7 separate regions of the Homo sapiens genome follow, and regions 1, 2, 3, 4, 5 and 7 are each linked to region 6. Evidence: promoter capture Hi-C in 16 types of primary human blood cells and fetal thymus (Javierre and others, 2016). All regions are on one chromosome and are shown on one strand. The core of a region is centred on a gene start or on the middle of the fragment in contact, and the rest is flanking DNA. Distances in the headings are between cores, read along the strand shown. Region 1 overlaps AGBL1 (AGBL carboxypeptidase 1). Region 2 has its middle 21 kb from the start of MIR548AP. Region 3 has its middle 79 kb from the start of MIR548AP. Region 4 overlaps AGBL1 (AGBL carboxypeptidase 1). Region 5 has its middle 61 kb from the start of MIR548AP. Region 6 holds the start of NTRK3 (neurotrophic receptor tyrosine kinase 3). Region 7 has its middle 40 kb from the start of MIR548AP.

Evidence for each region. Contacts are between HindIII fragments. The CHiCAGO score rates a contact against its expected background, and 5 or more counts as called.
Region 1: a contact is called between a fragment that was not itself captured here and the fragment with the promoter of NTRK3 in region 6, in 2 of 17 cell types (activated CD4 T cells and naive CD8 T cells). The highest score is 6.6, in activated CD4 T cells.
Region 2: a contact is called between a fragment that was not itself captured here and the fragment with the promoter of NTRK3 in region 6, in 4 of 17 cell types (endothelial precursors, M0 macrophages, M1 macrophages and 1 more). The highest score is 18.2, in endothelial precursors.
Region 3: a contact is called between a fragment that was not itself captured here and the fragment with the promoter of NTRK3 in region 6, in 3 of 17 cell types (naive CD8 T cells, M0 macrophages and endothelial precursors). The highest score is 6.8, in naive CD8 T cells.
Region 4: a contact is called between a fragment that was not itself captured here and the fragment with the promoter of NTRK3 in region 6, in 1 of 17 cell types (naive CD4 T cells). The highest score is 5.2, in naive CD4 T cells.
Region 5: a contact is called between a fragment that was not itself captured here and the fragment with the promoter of NTRK3 in region 6, in 2 of 17 cell types (M0 macrophages and endothelial precursors). The highest score is 7.5, in M0 macrophages.
Region 7: a contact is called between a fragment that was not itself captured here and the fragment with the promoter of NTRK3 in region 6, in 15 of 17 cell types (M0 macrophages, endothelial precursors, non-activated CD4 T cells and 12 more). The highest score is 32.1, in M0 macrophages.

The regions. Positions count from the first base shown.
Region 1 is chr15:86,237,021-86,239,720 of GRCh38, reverse strand. All of the region lies in intron 6 of AGBL1 (AGBL carboxypeptidase 1), which reads right to left. Among named protein-coding and RNA genes, the nearest start is that of AGBL1-AS1, 79 kb to the left of the region's middle. RefSeq lists an enhancer at 1,916-2,700. The HindIII fragment of the contact is 6,883 bases long and covers 1-2,700 here.
Region 2 is chr15:85,845,223-85,847,922 of GRCh38, reverse strand. No RefSeq gene overlaps it. Among named protein-coding and RNA genes, the nearest start is that of MIR548AP, 21 kb to the right of the region's middle. The HindIII fragment of the contact is 1,073 bases long and covers 813-1,885 here.
Region 3 is chr15:85,903,634-85,906,333 of GRCh38, reverse strand. No RefSeq gene overlaps it. Among named protein-coding and RNA genes, the nearest start is that of MIR548AP, 79 kb to the right of the region's middle. The HindIII fragment of the contact is 2,718 bases long and covers 1-2,640 here.
Region 4 is chr15:86,217,483-86,220,182 of GRCh38, reverse strand. The region is part of intron 5 of AGBL1 (AGBL carboxypeptidase 1); the gene reads right to left. Among named protein-coding and RNA genes, the nearest start is that of AGBL1-AS1, 98 kb to the left of the region's middle. The HindIII fragment of the contact is 963 bases long and covers 803-1,765 here.
Region 5 is chr15:85,884,879-85,887,578 of GRCh38, reverse strand. No RefSeq gene overlaps it. Among named protein-coding and RNA genes, the nearest start is that of MIR548AP, 61 kb to the right of the region's middle. The HindIII fragment of the contact is 1,957 bases long and covers 431-2,387 here.
Region 6 is chr15:88,255,427-88,258,126 of GRCh38, reverse strand. It overlaps NTRK3 (neurotrophic receptor tyrosine kinase 3), which reads left to right and starts at 1,388. Exons shown (of 20, transcript NM_001012338.3): 1 at 1,388-1,483; 2 at 1,641-1,843; 3 at 1,959-2,221. The coding sequence starts at 1,974. The region is part of intron 1 of NTRK3-AS1 (NTRK3 antisense RNA 1); the gene reads right to left. RefSeq lists an enhancer at 2,170-2,700. The HindIII fragment of the contact is 4,913 bases long and covers 1-2,700 here.
Region 7 is chr15:85,863,834-85,866,533 of GRCh38, reverse strand. No RefSeq gene overlaps it. Among named protein-coding and RNA genes, the nearest start is that of MIR548AP, 40 kb to the right of the region's middle. The HindIII fragment of the contact is 420 bases long and covers 1,232-1,651 here.

The sequences.
Region 1 (2,700 bases), core at 55-2,554, 2.0 Mb after region 6:
TCTCTGTTCCCTCTCAGGGCCCTAAATTGTGGTAAGAGTTGGTTTTTCGTAGGAAACTTGAAAAGGTTTAAAGACCCAAATAAATAGCCTATGGTTCTTTGAGTCCCTGGAGAAGATGTTTTGGGGACTTCTTTACATCCAGCCAATGACACAGTGAGGCCGGCCCAGCAATGTCAGGCCCAGGTGTGAGTGCGGCACCATTGAAGAGAGGTGGAATCAACTGCCACCTCCTCCTGCCCTGCAGCTGCAGGAGTGGCTGGTGCAAAGGAGAACAGCCAAAAGCATAAGGATATGTACAAAAGCATAAGGAAACCTAATGCCATCCATAATGGAAATTATACTTGATTATCATTTCTCAAATAAGAATGATGGTTTTGAATTAGCTTTCGGGTACTTTTTTTCTCTTTGTAAAATAGATACATTTCAATAAACTTGGCTATAAAGTAAATTTTGGTTTCAAGCAAATCTTGTTTTCTCAATTGACTGCCTTTATAAAATTAAAGATGCTTTTCCGAAGCTCCAGAAACCGGGACAGGTAAGAGACTACACTTCAGACCACTGTTTTAAATCTAGATGAATCTATCTTTTTATAAATCCTCAACTCCTTCTAATAACTTGCCACAGAACTAGTCCCAAACCACAGGAATTTCTCTACTTTCAGTAAAGCCTCAGAATCCACACCTTTCTCTTCCTCACACATCTCTGCTCTTCCCCCACCCTCAGCACATACAATGTCTAATGAAGGACCTTAGGTTGCAATGCTGCACCTATGAAGAGAAAGGGGCATGCCTGTAATTCCAGCACTTTGGGAGGCCAAGGCAGAAGCATTGCTTGAGCCAGGAGTTCAAGACCAGCCTGGACAACAGAGTGAGACCCCCATCTCTACAAAAAAATAAAAATAAAAAATAAATTTGAAAAATAAACATAGAAGGCGCCACAAGACTCGAAACTCTTCTGAGTCAACATTCTACATTCCATATGAGGAGTCTATCTCACATACTTTATCAATCCTCAGGCATATGTTTATCCACATTTTAGCATTTCTGAAATTAAGGTGCTTCTTACCAAGGGTGATGTTTTCATTGTAACTGACAGCATTTTCTCACTCAGTGGCACATAAAAAATGGCATACACCTCACAGTTGATGATAGACTTAGATTTGAGAAAATATGGTTGATTTTTCAATATTGCTAGTTTGAAAATTCTCTAACATGGTAGACTCTTGGGAGGTTTGCTTCTTAGATGCAAATAAACATACAGGCCTTTGTCCGGAAAGCCAGATTCTCCCTATGGCTAGGCAGAGAGTAAATTATAAACTAAAACCATGTTCACACACCCAAAACCCAAGGTACCACCCTTAATCCATTCAGCAAACATTTATTTAGCAACTACGATATACCAGTTGTTCCAGGCACTATTATTGACAACAGAGATGCAGCAGAAAATGAAATAGAGAAAGCCTCACCTCTTATGGGGTTTGCAGTCCCACAGGAGTGGCAGGGGGAGGCAGATACCAAATAGGCACACACAAAGAAAACTAAACAAGGCAATTTCACATAGAGACAAGTGATACAGAGAAAACAAAACAGTGGCACTAGAGTGATGAGGTAGGGTGGCTGCTTTAGGTTGGATGATCAGGGAAGACCCTTGAGGAGGGGGCATTGGAGCTGAGGCATGAGCGACAAGAAGGAACCAGGATGCAGAGATCTGGGGATAGGAAATTCTTCAAACCTCAAGGGCACACAGCAAGTGGATAAAGCAAAAACTTGGTAAGTACAAATAATGAAAAGTCCAGGAGCTAAAGCCAGGTGAAGAAAGCAAGGGGACAGTAGTAGCAGATGACGGGAAAGGTGAGCAGGGATCAGGATGTGTGACCCCCCACCATTTTGAGACTCATCCCAACAGGTTGTGCAAAAGCGGGGGAATCTGTCAGGCTGAGAATTTCTCACTCGCCTTTCTGTTGTTTTTGCATCTCTGCAAGAAGACCCTTCAGAATAATTGTCTTAGAAATAGGCCTAGAAATTTGTATAGGAGTTTTTTTATCCATCCAAATTTTTATTTTGAGTCTAGACTGTGGGTGGGGAAGGAAGTACTTGCTAAACCCCAAGACAAGCCATTATCCCTTCCAGGTCTAGAAAATCTTCCACCTGGTTTGACTTTGCTGTGTCCACTGTCAACTCATCAGAGGATGACACTTAAAGAAGAAAGCCAGGATTTACATCAAGAAGAAGAAAATCAGAGACCTTCCCTCACCTTCCTTTCTCCCCAACTTGATATTTAAGGCACCCGTCTGTCCACCAGTGATGCTGCCTGCTTCTGGCCAGAGTACAGACAACCAACATAGACAGCAGGAAAGCAATTCTGCCCTGCGTTGCAAGCATCGCTCATGAATCGGTTCACACTGCATTGTGCCTCTAGGCCCTGAGTGTATGAGGAAGAGGCAAATAGCAAATGCTTCTGCACCCCTGAGCCTGCCACCCTTCAGCCTTATGTCAGCCAATAGTGTGTCACTATTGTTATAGGAGTTATTAAGAAATTATTTTAGGCAGATACAGAGGAAAGAGGGTCCTTGGGAAGTTTTTGTTTCTTTTAAAGTAGCTCCAGAACGTTTCTTGTCTAGCAGGAAAGGCCCGGCTTTTAGAGCTGGGCTGGCCAGCTTTGATATGCAAATGTGGGCCATTAAAAACTGAGTCCACCATT
Region 2 (2,700 bases), core at 100-2,599, 2.4 Mb after region 6:
TGGAGAAAGAGAGACTTGGAGCAGAAAGAAGACAGAATGTGATGCTCAAGTGTTGGAATAAAATTCCTCTTTACAGTTACTCTAAGGAGCTGTTTCTATGCATTTCCAGTAAGCTTAATGATCAGTTTCCACAGCATCAATCATGTTGAGAAGCTTCATTATAAAACAGCCAAAGCATTATTCATAGTCACTCTGATGATAATATGATCATATTATGGGAATAATATTAAAGCACAGAAAAATAAGAAAAATGGGTAAGGATTGGGTTGGAAAGGTACTACTCTGGGAAATATAGAGCTAGTTATCATCTGGAGCACCCATCACAGGCTTTACATGTTTAGAAAGAATCGCAAGATTTCAAGTCTGCTTGTAGAGAAATACTCAGTGTCACATTTTACAACCCAGTGTGCTCCTTTAATAAAACACATTATTTAATATTGTATCTCAACGTGATTCATTCTACTATGAGTAGTTAATATTCTTCCCAGGTGCTGAAGAACCAGAAAGTCTGGAGCTGAAAATTCGAGGGTCAGGCCAGTTTAATCCCCTTTTGTTCTCAAATCAGTGATAAATAGATTACCAGAAATATTCTCAGGGACTGAGACAGACAGGCTGGACGACATAGAGAATTTATTTCAAATCCAGCTTCTGTGAATCCAGATGTCCATTCATCTCCTATGCAAAATGCTGCCGGAATCATCTGCTGACTTGTAAATGTCCATTTCCAGTCATAGAGCTCTCCCACATTAGCTTTGGGATCATGACCCAGGGAGCTGTTTAAATATCAGTCCAGCAACCTGCACTGTTAAGCTTTTTTTTTTTCCTAATCTTTTGAATTTTATTAAGACTTATTTTATCACCCAGCATATGGTCTAACTTGGTAAATATTCCAGGTGCATTTGAAAAGAATGTGTATTCTGTTCTTGGGTATAATCTCCTATAAATGGCAATTAGGTCCAGGTAACTGATAGTATTTACATATTCTATATTCTTACTGATGCCTTTGTCTAATTGTTCTATTAATTACTGAAAAAGGGATGTTAAAAATATTCAACCAGGATCGTTGACTTGCCTAGTTGTCCCTTTAATCTTCTCAGTTTGTGTTTCATACATTTGGAAGTTCTGTCATTGGTCACATATGCATATAGAAGGGGTGTATGTTCCTGCTGATTTGGTTCTTTTATTATTATAAAATAATCTGTATTGTATCTCATAATACTCCTTGCCTTGAGGTCTATTTTGTCTAATATTGTTATAATCACACCAGCTTTCTTATACTTACTATTTTCATGGTATGTACTTTTCCATTCTTTTACTTTTAAACTATCTGTGTCTTTACATTAGAAGGGTGTCCTTATAGGCACACTTTATAGAGCATAAAGACGGGAATTGCTTTTTTATTCAGCCTGATAATCTCTGTCTTTTAATTGTTATGTTTTGTCCTTTTACATTTAATGCAAATGTTGATATGTTGGTCTATCATTTTATTATTTGTTTTCTATTTGTCCTATCTCTTTTTTGTTCCTCTGTTCCTTCTTTTCTACTGTCCTTTGGGTTAATCAAACTTTTTTAGTATTCTATTTTAACTCCTCTATTGGCTTTTGAGTCACTTGCGACATTATCGTTTCATTAACCTCGCCTAGTCCTTTCTACCACTATTGTCATTATGGTACATCTACATACATTATAAACGCCACTGATTTGAGAAATTGTATTCAGCAATTAATATATAAATAATACATAAAATAATATATGAGTCGTTTGAGTTCCTTATATTCTGATTATTAATTTGTTGTCAGATGAACAATTTGAAAATATATTCTCCCATTTTTGTAGGTTGTCTCTTCACTTTCCTGATTGTTTTCTTTGCGTTTGTGCAGAAGCTTTTATGTTTGATGTGATCCCATTTGTCCATCTTTGCTTTGGTTTCCTGTGTTTGTGAGGTCTTACTCAAGAAATCTTTACCCAGACCAATGTCCTGGAGCATTTCCCCAATGTTTTTGCCTAATAGTTTCATAGTTTCAGGTCTTACATTTAAGTCTTTAATCCATTCTGATTTGATTTTTGTAAATAGTGAGAGATCAAGATCTAGTTCCAGTGTTCTGTATATGGATACCCAGTTTTCCCAGCACCATTTATTGAACAGACTGTCCTTTCCCCAATGAGTGTTCTTGGCACCTTTGGCAAAAATTCTACCTTCCAATACCAGATGAAGAGAGAGGAAAGTAGAAGGAGGAGAAAGAAAAAGAAAGGAAAGGAAGAAAAGAGAGGCAAACCAATGAGTTCAATTGGCCAATTCACACAGTGGCTTCTGTACCATCACTCTGAACACTGTCCCAGCGTAGCCCAAAGCCCCCTTGCCTCCTTCCAGCTAAGACCCTTGCTGGCCCAGATCTGTACAATCAAGAGTAGTGTTCTACACTGGAACTTCAAGTTATTCTTCCTAGTTCATAGGCACAAACTCTGCCTAAAGCACAGGACATGCCTGGATCCCCAACCACAGCCACATTCAGAGCCGGCTCCGTGTCTTCTCACAAATCCAAGGGTCACCATCTCACCTTCCCTCACAGTGAGTTTGTACTCCAAGGCCCTTGGCGTCCTTTCCTCTCATAGGGCCTTGCTCAGGACCAAGTGTTCTATACTCCTACAGGTTTCCTGATCTTTTAATTCCAGACAGGGGTTGGAATATCAGTCCTTTTC
Region 3 (2,700 bases), core at 32-2,531, 2.4 Mb after region 6:
CCTGCGTCTTTGACAATGATTCAGTCTCTCTTCTACCACTCTGCCTTGGGCCTCACAGCACAGGCCAGCATGGGAAACATCCAATATCCACACAGCATCCTGATGGGCAGGGCTCCCACTCATCTCAGCCCAGCCCTGCCAGCACCTCCCAGACAGGATGGTAGACCAGGGACTGGAGTCACAAGGAGCAACGCAGGTCTGCCGTACTGAATTAAATAGATGAAAACTTCTGTTTCAGATACTGCTGAATTCTTGGGAAACACTTGAATAAGCAATACTTTGTGTTTTCTCACGACGGAGCAGGACTGACCCATAGAAAAGACTCCCTCAGAGCCTGCGGGGGGCTGGGCAGGCTCTGAATGGCAAGGCAGCCTTTCCCACTGGAAACCAAGGCCTTCCCGCTCCCCAGCCATTAGCAACACCAATCCCTTTTTCCCTGTCGCATTGTGTCAGCATTCACTTCTGACCAAGAAACCCCATTAATTTTCTGTGATGTACATCCCAAATGACATCACTTCAGTCCTTTGAAATTCAAAATGCTGGATTAATGAACCACAAACTTCAAGAAATTGGCTGCACAATCCATCACATCTGACTGCAACTTTACCACTACCTCAAATTCCAAAGAGCGGCATAAATTTCCCAGGCTGCTTTTGAAAATGAACACAGAAGCCGGAAACAGCAGCCCACACTGCGTTCATCGTTTCTACAAATGTTGTGTCTTCTGTGTGCTGGAAATTAAATGGTCCCATTCTCCACCTGGTATTTTATTGATATAAATTTAACCTGTTCAAATGTTGTATTAAATTCTAGTCTTTTCCAGAATAATCTGCATTTAATTCCTCATTCCACCAATCTATTGAAAATCTCCCTCTTGGCAGCCTTTCAGAAAAGCTATATGAATTACAAACTCTTTGAAATTTTGTTGAAGTATTAAGAACACTACTTACCCACATATTCAACTGAGGCCCTTTTAATTCCATTCCATTTCCCCAAACTCCTTTATATAATGTCAGAGCCACAAAAACCAGACTCAGTGACTGGGCACAGCCATTCACCTTTCCTTCAGAAGTGAAAATGGCATTAACATTCGCAAATGAAAAAATATAGATCAAACTAATTACCTCCTTTTTTCCCCAAAGTAAAAGACGATCTAACACCATTCTTTTGGACATAATGCCATTTATTTCACATAAGGGGGATTTTGTGTGCTCAGAAAAGATGGTATTTAATACGTGTGAATCAAAATCCAGATTAGCTAATTAACTGATGTCTGAGAATGAGATGAAGAATCAACATGCTATGAAAATTGTCAAAAGCACAGAAGAAATGTCACACCAGGTGAGACTAGTCCATGGGGTCCAGAGTTTTCTCTGCCAGTGAAACAGATTTTTTTTTTTTTTTTTTTTTTGACATGGAGTTTTGCTCTTGTTGCCCAGGCTGGAGTGCAATGGCACGATCTTGACTCACTGCAACCTCTGCTTCTGGGTTCAAGCAATTCTCCTGCCTCAGCCTCCCAGGTAGCTGAGATTACAGGTGCCCATAACTACGCCCAGCTAATTTTTGTATTTTTAGTAGAGATGGGGTTTCACCATGTTGGCCAGTCTGGTCTTGAACTCCTCACCTCAAGTGATCCACTCACCTCGGCCTTCCAAAGTGCTGGGATTACAGGCATGAGCCACCATGCCCGGTCCTGTTTTTTTTTCCAAAAGCACAGTAGAATAAAACTTTGGTTAGTTGAAATCACCAGAAAATGAATCATCGTCAGATAGCCAAGTTTTCCAGATAGCTGAAGGTAATTTCTTTAAATCACAAAAATGTTTTATTTAGCTTAAATGTTTCTCTGCCCTCATAGAATGCATTTATCCAACACTGGTCATTCAGTCATCACTATGAGCATCAAAAATTATTTACCGAAGGCCTAAGGACTTGGTGAATTGTAGTGGGTTATTTGCCCCTTCATTAAATTGCCCCAAACTGTTGTCCTGGATGTACCTGTCAGTGACATCTGGCTTAGTTCAATATTTCCCGACTCTCAGGTAGATTCCAGAAGGCTCATTTTTGGAAAGGTGATGTTGGGGTGGACTACCAAGGTGTCACCTTTAATGATGAAGGATTTACCTCACCCAGATCCCCAACCCTCAGTAAGAATTGGCTAAGATATTCATCATGTAGAATTTATCCAATCTAGTGGTTCCAATTTTTTTTTTTTTGGTAGAAGCAGGCAAATGAAGAGGTCATTTCTCGAATAGTCATGGTCACCTACAAGATGTGATAGTGAAACCCAGTCCTAACTGATCCAGTCTTTAGTTACAGAGGAGGAAGAGCAGAAAATTAGATTCTTAAGAGTTTCCTGGCTGTGGCAGTCAAGTGCCTCATAGAAAAATCTAGAGAACTATAGAAAAAAATAAGCCATAGAAAAAGTCCAGGCTAACAGAGGGAATGGGAAACATCAATATCACTGAAGGGTTTCCAGGTAATACTTCAAGATAAACCAATTCATTAATTTAACTACTGCAGTAACATCTCTTTCTGGTTTGTAAAATGTTTTAAGAGTACCAACTTCCAAACGTTCATACCTGTACGTCAATGTATATAAGTTTTCTAGAAACTTGAAGCCATTTAAAGTAATTAGAAGCTTTTTATTTTTCCTATTTCATGTGTAAGTCTTTTCAAAATGGACCACATGGTTTCTCGCCT
Region 4 (2,700 bases), core at 35-2,534, 2.0 Mb after region 6:
GAAGAGTTCAACGCCAGCCTGGCCAAGATAGTGAAACCCCATCTCTACTAAAAACTACAAAAAATTAGCTGGGCATGGTGGCAGGCCCCTGTAATCCCAGTTACTTGTGAGGCTGAGGCAGGAGAATTGCTTGAACCCAGGCAGTAGAGGTTGCAGTGAACCAAGATTGTGCCACTGCACTCCAGCCCGGGCAACAGAGTGAAACTCCATCTAAAAAAAAAAAAAAAAAAAAAAAAAGAGGCAGCATTAGCTATAAGTCTACCTCTGGGTGAATTTAAATCTAGTGATCCTAAAGTCTTCTCTCTACTTTTAACATAATTCTAGAAAGAATCTAAAATATCTCTCTGTGCAATATTTTTATCTTTCAAATAAGGATTGTGGAGATCAAAAGGTTAGATGACTGGTGCAAGGTCAGAGGATTCATACATCACAGAGCCAATGAGGCAAACAACTTGTCCAGCTTGAGTCCACTGTTTGATTCAAGATTCTACATAGCACAGTGTGGTACAGCTTAAGCGGGTTTAGATGTTCAATGGTGGTCATGGAGACAAAGACAAAGAACTCAAGGAGAAGCAAGTCACAGGCATCTTTGAGTGGCAGGACTGAGTTGCTAAATTAGGAATTAGAGGGCTTGGGTTTGAAGCTTGGAGCAGCCACTTTTCTGCTTCTGGGTTCTGGGTTTACTTGATCTCTCTGAATCTCATAGCCTTTCTCATTTATAAAGTGGGTATAAGATCTAACTGATGGGATGGTGTGAAGAGTGAGATAAAGTAAAATTTAAATTAAATTACGTTAAAAAGCTTACTAGAGCCCCTGAAATGTAATATTATTAGGTTGGTCCAAACGTAATTTTTGCCATTAAAAGTAATGGCAAAAACCACAATTACATTTGGACCAACCTAATAACTTGAATGTCATTCTTGGATCATGGAAGGTGGAATGGGTACCAAGTGAGGAAGTGGGTTTATCTCTGTATATGTGTTTGCAGGCAGTGAGCCTGCAGGGTCATCATTCACCAGTCAGGAGAGGTCACTGGAGAAAAAATGTGCTCCTATCCCTGGGTACATGGAGGAAACATAGGACCAAACTATCTCTTGGAAGTCAGATATTCTGTGGCACAGATGGCCTAGATATAGCAATGCCACCCATATTAGTTATCAATTGCAGTGTAATGTTACCACAATTGTAGCAGCTTGAAGCAATATTCATGTATTATCTCACAGTTTATATGGGGCAGGAATCCACTTAGGTGGATCCTCTGCTTACGGTCTGACAAGGCTGCAATCAAGGCATCAGCCAGGGCTGAGTCTTCATCTTGAGGCTCAACTGGGGAAGGATGTTTCCCAACTCAAACAGGTTCTTGGTAAAATACCTTTCCTTGCAGTGCCAAGGCCAAGGACACTGCCGGCTTGCTGTATCAACAGACAGTAAGACCACTCTGCATTTCTAGAGGCTACCTGCAGTTTCTACAAGCCACCAACTGTTCTTTGCAATGGGGGTTTCCCCAACATTACTGCTTACTTCATCAATGAGGAAAGTTTCTATAGAGAGTACATATGCAATGACCTCTTATAACACAATTATGTAATATAATCACAGGGGTGACCAGGGATGACATGTCCTTACCTTGCCATATTCTGTGGGTTAAAAACAAGTTTCAGCTCTTTCCCATCCTCAAAGGCAGGAAATAACATAAAGGTATAAACAACAGGAGGTGAGGATCATGGCAGGGGGCCACCTGAGAGTCTGTCCCCCACCCAAAGCTTCTTGCAATGTTTAGCATCCAGATACCAGCAACCTAACATTCACTTCACCAAGACTTGACCCTCCCCAGACGTCCCCTTTTCAGAGAGTGGAAATACTATCTTCCCAGAAGTTGAACATGCACCCTTAACACCACCTGCCCTTTCCACCTAGATCTCCATCATTTCCTCAAACACCACTTTGTAACTTCTAGAGAGCTCTTAAGTTGTCCATTCCTTTTGATCTCTGCTGTTGTCACCCTAGCCTAAGCATGTGAGGGTCTGGTACTTTAATGAGAAATGTAATTTCTAGAGCTATTGGTCCTTGGTTGGAACATATATTTTAACTTCCTAGGTTATTCCTTAGGTATATTAGAAAATATAATTAAGCAAAAAGAAATGAAATAAATTAAAATCACCCAAATATCTCTCACCCAACTACTGCTATAGCCCCAAAACTAATCTATCCATATCCACTCTGTATCTCCTTCAAGCTGTTCTCCAGTCTGCAACTAGAGTGGTCTTCTCAATCAGAGGCTCAGATTTGAGCACCCTCACATTGCTACCCCACATCCACTCTTGCTCTGGATAAAAAATCCAAATCTGAAACATGGACCAGGAGGCCCTACTGAATCTGGCAGATGCCACCCTCTCCAGCTTTGTCCCACACCACTTTCTCTTGCTTTCTATACCTCTGCCCCACTGTTCTTTTTCCAAGACCTAGAGCATGTACCCATGGCTTGTCCTTTGACCTTGCTAATGCTGCAGCCTAAAATGCCCTGGGCCTTTCTCCCCTTCTTTACCTGTATCTCATACTTTATCCTTTACATCCTAACTTAGGTGTCATTTCCTGTAGAAAGACTCCCTTGACCCCTAGTCCTCTGTTAGGTACATTCATCCTTTTTTCCTCTTTTCTCATTGCACAATTTAGTTTGCAGTTATTCACTCAGTTGTGTGA
Region 5 (2,700 bases), core at 160-2,659, 2.4 Mb after region 6:
TTTTATTAGCTTCTTCATTTAATCTTCGCTGGCAAGGAAGCAACTCAGAATGTAAGTGACGTGCCCAGTACGCTGCCCAGCTATAGAGCAGGAGATGCCAGGATTTAACTTCAGGATTTTTTTTTTTTTTTTGAGACAGAGTCCCACTCTATTGCCCAGGCTGGAGTGTGGTGGTACAATAACCCCTCCCTGTAGCCTCAAATTCCTGGGCTCAAGCAATCCTCCCACCCCAGCCTCCCAAGTAGTCGGACATGTGCCACTGTGACCAACTAATTTTCTTATTGTACAGATGGGGCCCTGCTATGTCACCCGGGCTGGTCTCAAACTCCTGGGTTCAAGAGATCCTCCTGCCTCAGCCTCCCAAAGTGCAGGGATTACAGGCACAAGTCACCACATCCAGCCTAAATTCAGGTTTTTTAATTCCAAAGCTTAAAGATTTCCCCAGCCTTCCTTGATAATCCCTCTAATAATAAGTGAGGTTTTTAGACATGCAGTAGCTCAAAGGTGGTTTAATCCAAACCTTCTTATGCAAGAGAACACTGAGGCCTGTGGATTCTTGACTAATGTGGGAATATGATTAGAACTCGGTTCTCCTGAATCCCAACCCACTTCCCTTTCTACTGTCTCATCCTACAAGAAACCTTCCCTAATGCCTTTGTGCTACATATTAGGTTGATTTTTTTATGTAAATTCTGCATAAATTCATATAAAGTGTATTACACTTAAGGCATTAAATTAACTCCCGTTCCTCTTTCCATCTCCCTATGGTTCCTAATTTTCAACTCCTCCTTATTTTGAACAGTCTCCAAGTTCCTCCTGCCCGTCTGCCAGAGCAGCTGCCAGCCCAGTTTATAGCAGACTCATTTTTGCAGGATACAGTCATTTGGGAATGGTCAGGGACATCAGGGAAGCCAGGACAGAAGCCGGACAGGGCTGATTTCAAGGGCAAAAGAACAGCTGGCACTTGGGACAGCCACTGCCAGCATCGAGAGGGCAAAGTGGGCCCTGGGGAACACGAAGGAACGCCTGCCCAGCAGCCAGCGAGAGCCAGAGCCTGGCGAGGCTTAACTGTCCCAGTGGCACTGTGTTGGGATGAACAGGTGCTCCCACAGATGACTGGGCAGCTCAGCTTCTAGCAGGGATGTGGTGTGGGGTAGACTGAGCAGGGAATTGCAGATACACACAGACCAAGAGACAACCACGCCCTTGCAAAGCAGTTGAGAATAGCAGCTGGGATGAAAGTACTTATTCTTCACTTGAGACAGAGTCTCTCTGTTGCCCAGACTGAAGTGCTGCGGCACAACCTCGGCTCACTGCAACCTTCGCCTCCCTAGTTCAAGCAGTTCTGCCGCCTTAGCCTCCCAAGTAGCTGGGATTACAGGCACCCACCACCATGCCCAGCTAATTTTTTTGTATTTTTAGTAGAGACGGGGTTTCACCACATTGGCCAGGCTGGCTTCGAACTCCTGACCTCAATCTGCCTGCCTCAGCCTCCCAAAGTGCTGGGATTACAGGCATGAGCCACTGTGTCCAGCCAGAAGTACTTATTCTTAGGGGAGTAGAAACATTTGACCTTCAGCCAGTCAGAGGCTAAAGGCAGCATGACTGGGGGTGGTGCTACTCAAAGGGTGGTCCTTATACATCAGCTTTACCTGGGAGCTGGTCAAAATGCTAATTCTCAGGTCTCACCCCAAACCTACTGAATTAGAACCTGCATTTTAATAAGAAACCCAAGTAATTCCTGTGCACAGTAAAGTGAGAAATGCTGGTCTAGGACAGGGATTCTCAGTGTGGTTTCCAGACCAGCAGCATCAGCATCACCTGAGAACTTGTTAGAAATGCAAATTGTCAGGCCTCACTTCCAGACCTCTGGGGAAGGGGCTCAGCACGTGGTTCTAATGAGCCATCCAGGTGACACTGGTACGCATTAAAGTTTGAGAAGCACTGATTTCAGAAACATCTTATGCATTTTGGAGACAGGCAATTCGGAGGAATCTCAGGAAAGGAATCCTGATTGCAGCTTGGAAGGAAGACCCAGAACACCGGCGCCAGCCAGCACCGTCTCCTGCTGCTCCAGCCTCCTGACACTCTTACCCACAGACAGCAGACCCAGAATCCAGGCTTCCCTTGCCAGCCCAGGAATTCCCAAGTTTCAGAGCTCAGCTGGTTGGAGGTCACTGCATTGAGTAGTGGCCGTTCCAAATTGGTACACCATATACAATCAAGCCAAACCCCAGAAGAAAACAGAACAGCCCAGATCTGTAATCCAGCCACCAGCTGAGGTCTCTCCACACTTAAGGACCAGATACTACCAGCTAGAACTTCACTCCTTGACCTGCGGAAACCCAGGATCCTCCCCCATGACTTCTGGGTGTTCTTAAAAAGCTTATTTCAGGGTCCCTTCTAGATTCAAGTTCTGCAGCTGAATCAAGTCAGCAGATGGACAACCTCACCCATCCTCACAGGGAGTCCCTTGCCCCATGGCATCAACCTGGATATGGGACCCAGCACATCTGTGGTTACTGTTTTATGAAATATATCCCACTAGGATTTTGAAGGTAGTACACTTTCATGAAGCCACTAGGGAAAGGGGCTCCAATCAAAGAAATACAAATCATTTCCAACTGAGTAGCAGCATCTCTATTCTTAAAAGCCCCAGAACCCACCAGAATGCTCTGACACCTTCCCCTCCCTATTGTG
Region 6 (2,700 bases), core at 139-2,638:
AATGTATTTTGCTTCCTCGCCTGCCCTCCTCCAAGCTCGGGAAGGAGAACCCTGCTTTCTTCTGCGTGTGAATGCTGTAGTGTGTCTGCCTGCTCGGACTCCCCTAACCCTTTCTTCTCCTTTCCCACAGCGAATGCTCGTTTTTTTTTTTTTCAGCAAACAGCTCACACTTGGCATCTTTATGTTTTATTAAGAAAAAAATCCCTACCAGCGCAAAAGCGGGGCCCCCCCCACACACACTTCTTTCCCGGATGAGATCTGAGCTCTCGTCGAAAGCTGCACCTGCTTTGCGTCCCTACCAGGAAGGGGTGCTTGTGTGGGAGGGAAGGAGGAGGTTCTGCGCCCCCGAATCCGGAGAAAGCAGCCCGCCCGCCCCCTCACCCGGCAGCCAGCTCAGCTCACCCGAGAGCTGAGCCCGAGAAGCCGGCCTCTGACGGTGCTGGCGTGGCGCTTGCCAAAATATGCCCCTTGCATCTCAATTTCCCCCGGCCATTTCTCTTGCACGCACAGCTCGCCCGGGGCCACCTCGGCTCTCCAGCGCAGCCCTTTCGACCCCTGTTTCTTCCTTCCCCGATCCATGCCTGCTCAAGGCCGAATGCAAAACCCACCTCCAAGAAAGCGCAGCGGGCACGGGGGGCACCTAGCGTGCCATGTCCCGCAGTCCCCTCCCAGCCAAGACCAGAGCCCCAGACTCTAGATTACGGAAATGAGTGTCATTCAGACCAAGGACTGCGCGTCTGCGGTCCCGGTCCCCGGCTCTGGGTGCTTCTCTGGGGTGTCTGTGCGCTCCGGCACCCCCCGTCGCCGTCCGTGAGCCTGCGCCCCCCACCCACCCAGGCTTGGGAGCGCCCCCCACCCAAGGCTTGGGAGCACTCCCCAATCACCTCCGCCACGTTCATTTCACTTCCTACCGCGGTCCGGATTGCAGCAAAACCGGGTAGCGCGAGGGCCAAAAAGTGGAAAGGAGAGCGCCTTTCCGTGTCGTGCAGCCAGCTCGCCAACTCTCCCTCCCCAGCCCCGACCCTCGCAATCTCAAATGCAACTTTTTCCCTTCGGTCTCGGTTTCCCCCGGGCTGCGGCTAGCGGGCGCCGCGCTGCGAGGCGTGGAGCGGGCGGGCTGCCGCGAGGCTGCGGGTGGCGGTGCCGGCTACAGCCGCGAGCCGGCGAGTGGGTGGGTGGGTGGGTGGGGAGGAGGGAGAGGACAGGCGGGGAGAGAGACGGGTGTGGGGAGGGGAGGGAGGGGGAGATTCCGCTCTCCTGCCGCTCCCAGCCCGGGCGGGGGGCGGGGGGAGGAGGCCGCGACGAGGGAGGGGAGGAGGGAGGGAGGAAGGGAGGGAGGGAGCCGAGGAAGACGCTCCGATAACCCGTGCGTTTCGTAAGGCTCGGAGCACTTGTACATTTCTGCAGCCGCGCGGCGAGCCATTCGCGGCGGCTGCTGCAGCTCCTACTGCATCTTCCTTCTCTTCCTTTCCTCGGGCTCCGGGTGTGTGTATGTGTGAGAGTGAGTGTGTGTGTTTTGCAGGTGCGTGGTGTGTCCGTTTTAATTCTGCCCAGTAGGTGGGACTTGGTGACTTTAGCACCATTTTTTCCTTTTCCTTTTTTTTTTTTGCCTCCCCACCGTCTGTTGCAACCCTGCAAAGTCTCGGAGTCGGAGAGCGCGCCTCGCTTCCAGAGCCCCCGGACCCGGCGAGTCAGCGATCGCCGAGCCGGCCACCATGCCCGGCAGACCGCGCCACTAGGCGCTCCTCGCGGCTCCCACCCGGCGGCGGCGGCGGCGGCGGCGGCGTCCGCGATGGTTTCAGACGCTGAAGGATTTTGCATCTGATCGCTCGGCGTTTCAAAGGCAGAGGCCCCCCCTCCCCCTTCCCCCCTCCCTCGCCGTCTTTGTTTCCTTCCCCCCCTGCTCTCCCCACTCCCCCCACCCCACCCCCCTCTCCTCTCCTCCTCCTCTTTTTTAGAAGCAGCGATCGGAGATGGATGTCTCTCTTTGCCCAGCCAAGTGTAGTTTCTGGCGGATTTTCTTGCTGGGAAGCGTCTGGCTGGACTATGTGGGCTCCGTGCTGGCTTGCCCTGCAAATTGTGTCTGCAGCAAGACTGAGATCAATTGCCGGCGGCCGGACGATGGGAACCTCTTCCCCCTCCTGGAAGGGCAGGATTCAGGGAACAGCAATGGGAACGCCAGTATCAACATCACGGACATCTCAAGGAATATCACTTCCATGTAAGTCAGGCGGCCGCTCCCCAGCCTGCCTCCCCCGCGCTCTGCGTCTCCCTCCTGCCCACCCGCGGCCGGGAGCCGGCCCTCCGCCCGCCCCAGCTCGCCGCTGCCCGCCGCCCGCTGGGCGCGCGTCAGGCTCGCTCTGGCTCGGGAGATGCTCTCCGGCTGCGCATTCCAGGTGACTCCGGCCCTGGCGAGGCGCGATCCGGCTATGCGTGTGTGTGCCTCTCCCCGGAGAGGACCCCGGCCGCCGAGGGCACGCGGGGCCCAGCTACCGCCCGCCTCCCAACCAGTTGCTGGCTCGTTTCGATGGTGCAAATTGTTTTTTTTTGCTCCCCACTAAATAGCAACAGTTTGGCCACGCTCAAGTGGAATAAAGTAGACGAGGTTCGATTCTTTGGCAGAGGCGGCAGCGGCGGTGGCAGCGGCGGCAGCGCTTAGCCGGCAGGGAAGGTGACAGATAGGGACTGCTCGCGATCCAG
Region 7 (2,700 bases), core at 192-2,691, 2.4 Mb after region 6:
AGCATCGTCAGTAATGGGACCACATGACATCATGTGCCGCCTGAAGTGATGTAACAGGAAGGATGCCAGATTGCCCTGGTAGTATTCTTGCCAAGATACTTAACCTGGATTAATAATCCAGAATCAGTAAGACAAATCCAGAGTGCTGGGCATTCTACAAAACACATGAACCGGACTGTTGAGAAATGTCAATGTCATAAAAGATCAAAAGCGGAGGAGGAGAGCTCTACAAAAAAGGTGACATGACAACTACATGAGGGTGTGATACTCAAATGGACTCTGTAGCAGGGGATTGAAAATTACTATAGGCCAGGCGAGGTGGCTCACACCTGTAATCCCAGCACTTTGGGAGGCCGCGGCAGTCGGATCATTGGAGGTCAGGAGTTCAAGAACAGCCTAGCTGACATGGTGAAACCCCATCTGTACTACAAATACAAAAAAATTAGCCAGGTGTGGTGGCACACGCCTGTAATCCCTGCTACTTGGGAGGTAGAGGCTGCAGTGAGCTGAGATCACACCACTGCACTCCAGCCTCTGCCACAGAGTGAGACTCCATCTCAAAGAAGGAAGGAAAGAAAGACAGAGAGAAAGAAAGGAAGGAAGGAAGGAAGGAAGGAAGGAAGGAATGAAGGAAGGAAGGAAGGGAAAGAAAGAAAATTATTGTAAAGAACATTGCTGGGACCGTTGGGGCAATTTAAATGTGATTATAAATTAAGTAATGTATCAATGTTAAGGTTCTTGGATATGGTGATGTTGTGGTTATATAAAGAAATGTCTTTATTCTTAGAAGACGTGTTGAATTATTGAGAGGTAAAGTGTCAGGGTGTCTGCAACTATCAAAGCTTTCATCCAGAGGAAGAGAGAGAAAGATGAAATAAATGTGGCTAAATGTGATAATTTGATGAATCCCAGTGAAGACCAAGAAGATGTTCATCTTCCAGCTTTTCTATAGGTTTGAAACTTTTCAGAGTGAAAAGTTGGGAGGATGGAAAAAGAAGTAAATAAATAAATGAATCAATTGAGTCAACAATTGAGATTCCTTTTCCCTAAGACCTTTATAAGCAGTTTGCTCACATTGATTCTGATGTGGACAGTTCTGGATGTAAAGGGGGCAGGCCTAGAATGAATGATCTTTCCTGGCGTCTTCCAGATTGCAGATGTACGTTTGGTTTGGTTTGGTTTGGTTTTTAATTTGGGAATTACAAAAGCAGCAGGGACCCTGTGCGAAGCTTGAGCGGCTGCTGCCATCTTGTGGATCTCAGCACTTCTGCAAAGTTGGAAACATATTCCAGGTCACTGCAGGCTAAGGAGCCCCCCTCCACAGCCTGGGAAGGAATGCCCTGGAGGTTAAAGGTGTAAGTACTTTTGTTAACTTCCTTCCAGAGTGAGTGACGATGCAGCCTACATCCTTCAGTGGGTTCTCTGGATGCACAGGGTCCTCCGCCTTTAAAGTCAGCAGGCCTGACAAAACTTGCATCGATTTCACTCTGCAAAATTCAGGCTAGGGAGCCATTGAGTGGGAATTTACTGACATTTGCACGCAATATTGACTTGTTGGCATTGTTTTCTTATTCATGAAGTCTCATAAAAATGATACTGGGCACTTCTGATACCAGCTTTTCAAACCTCTAATTGGTTCACAGACAAAGCTTTGAAAGCAGGTGTGGGAGGGTCACGATCAGAGACAGTGAGAAAGAGGAGGGAGTGGACTACCTTAGAAGGAGAGCGGGAGGAGGAGCCAGAAAAAAAACTAGCTTCTAGATTTTCTTTGCAGGCAGGGTGGATGTGGTAAGAAGCTCTGAGGACTTTCAGGCTAGGTGGACTTGGGTTTGCATTTCAGCACTGAGGTGCCACTTTCTGCTTGGGGCAGCTTAGACATCTCCTGGGGATTGTTATCTGAATGGTGGTGATAACACATAGGGGATTATGTTAAGGACTGAGGATGTTTTAAGGCAGCAGTTTTAAACTTGAGCAAGCCCCAGAATAATCTAAAGGGTTAAAACATAGATTTCTACCCCGACTCCTCCCCCAGAGTCTCTGATTCAGCAGGTCCCAGGTGGTCCCAAGCATCTGCATTTCTTTTTTTTTTTGAGACAGAGTCTGGCTGTGTTGCCCAGGCTGGAGTGCAATGGCAAGATCTCGGCTCACTGCAACCTCTGCCTCCCGTGTTCAAGCAATTCTCCTGCCTCAGCCTCCCAAGTAGCTAGGACTACCGGCACATGCCACCATGCCCAGCTAATTTTTGTATTCTTAGCAGAGATGGGGTTTTGCCATGTTGGCCAGGCTGGTCTTGAACTCCTGACCCCAAGTGATCCTCCCACCTCTGCATTTCTAATAAGTTCCCAGGCAGCGCTGATGCTGCAGGTCTGGTTACCATGCTTTGAGAACCATTGTTTTAAGGACTAAAATGGCATAAACATATGGTAAGCATGGGGTAGGTAGTCAACAATCAATCAGACCTCTGCCTGACACTTCCCAGGGCTCCTTCCAACACACCCCCTTTGAGTAGGCACAAGCATTTCTGAGACTGAGTATATCTCTACAAGACATGTCCTGGGTGTTTATCTTAGACATGAGATAAAGCAAAGTTCTCACAGTAGTGCAGGGAAAAGACCCACGTGGGCTTAGGCTGGGATTTCAGGCACTGAGTGGTGCGGCTCAGGCTTGGATGGGCACAGTTGCTTGGCCCCACCCTGTGCA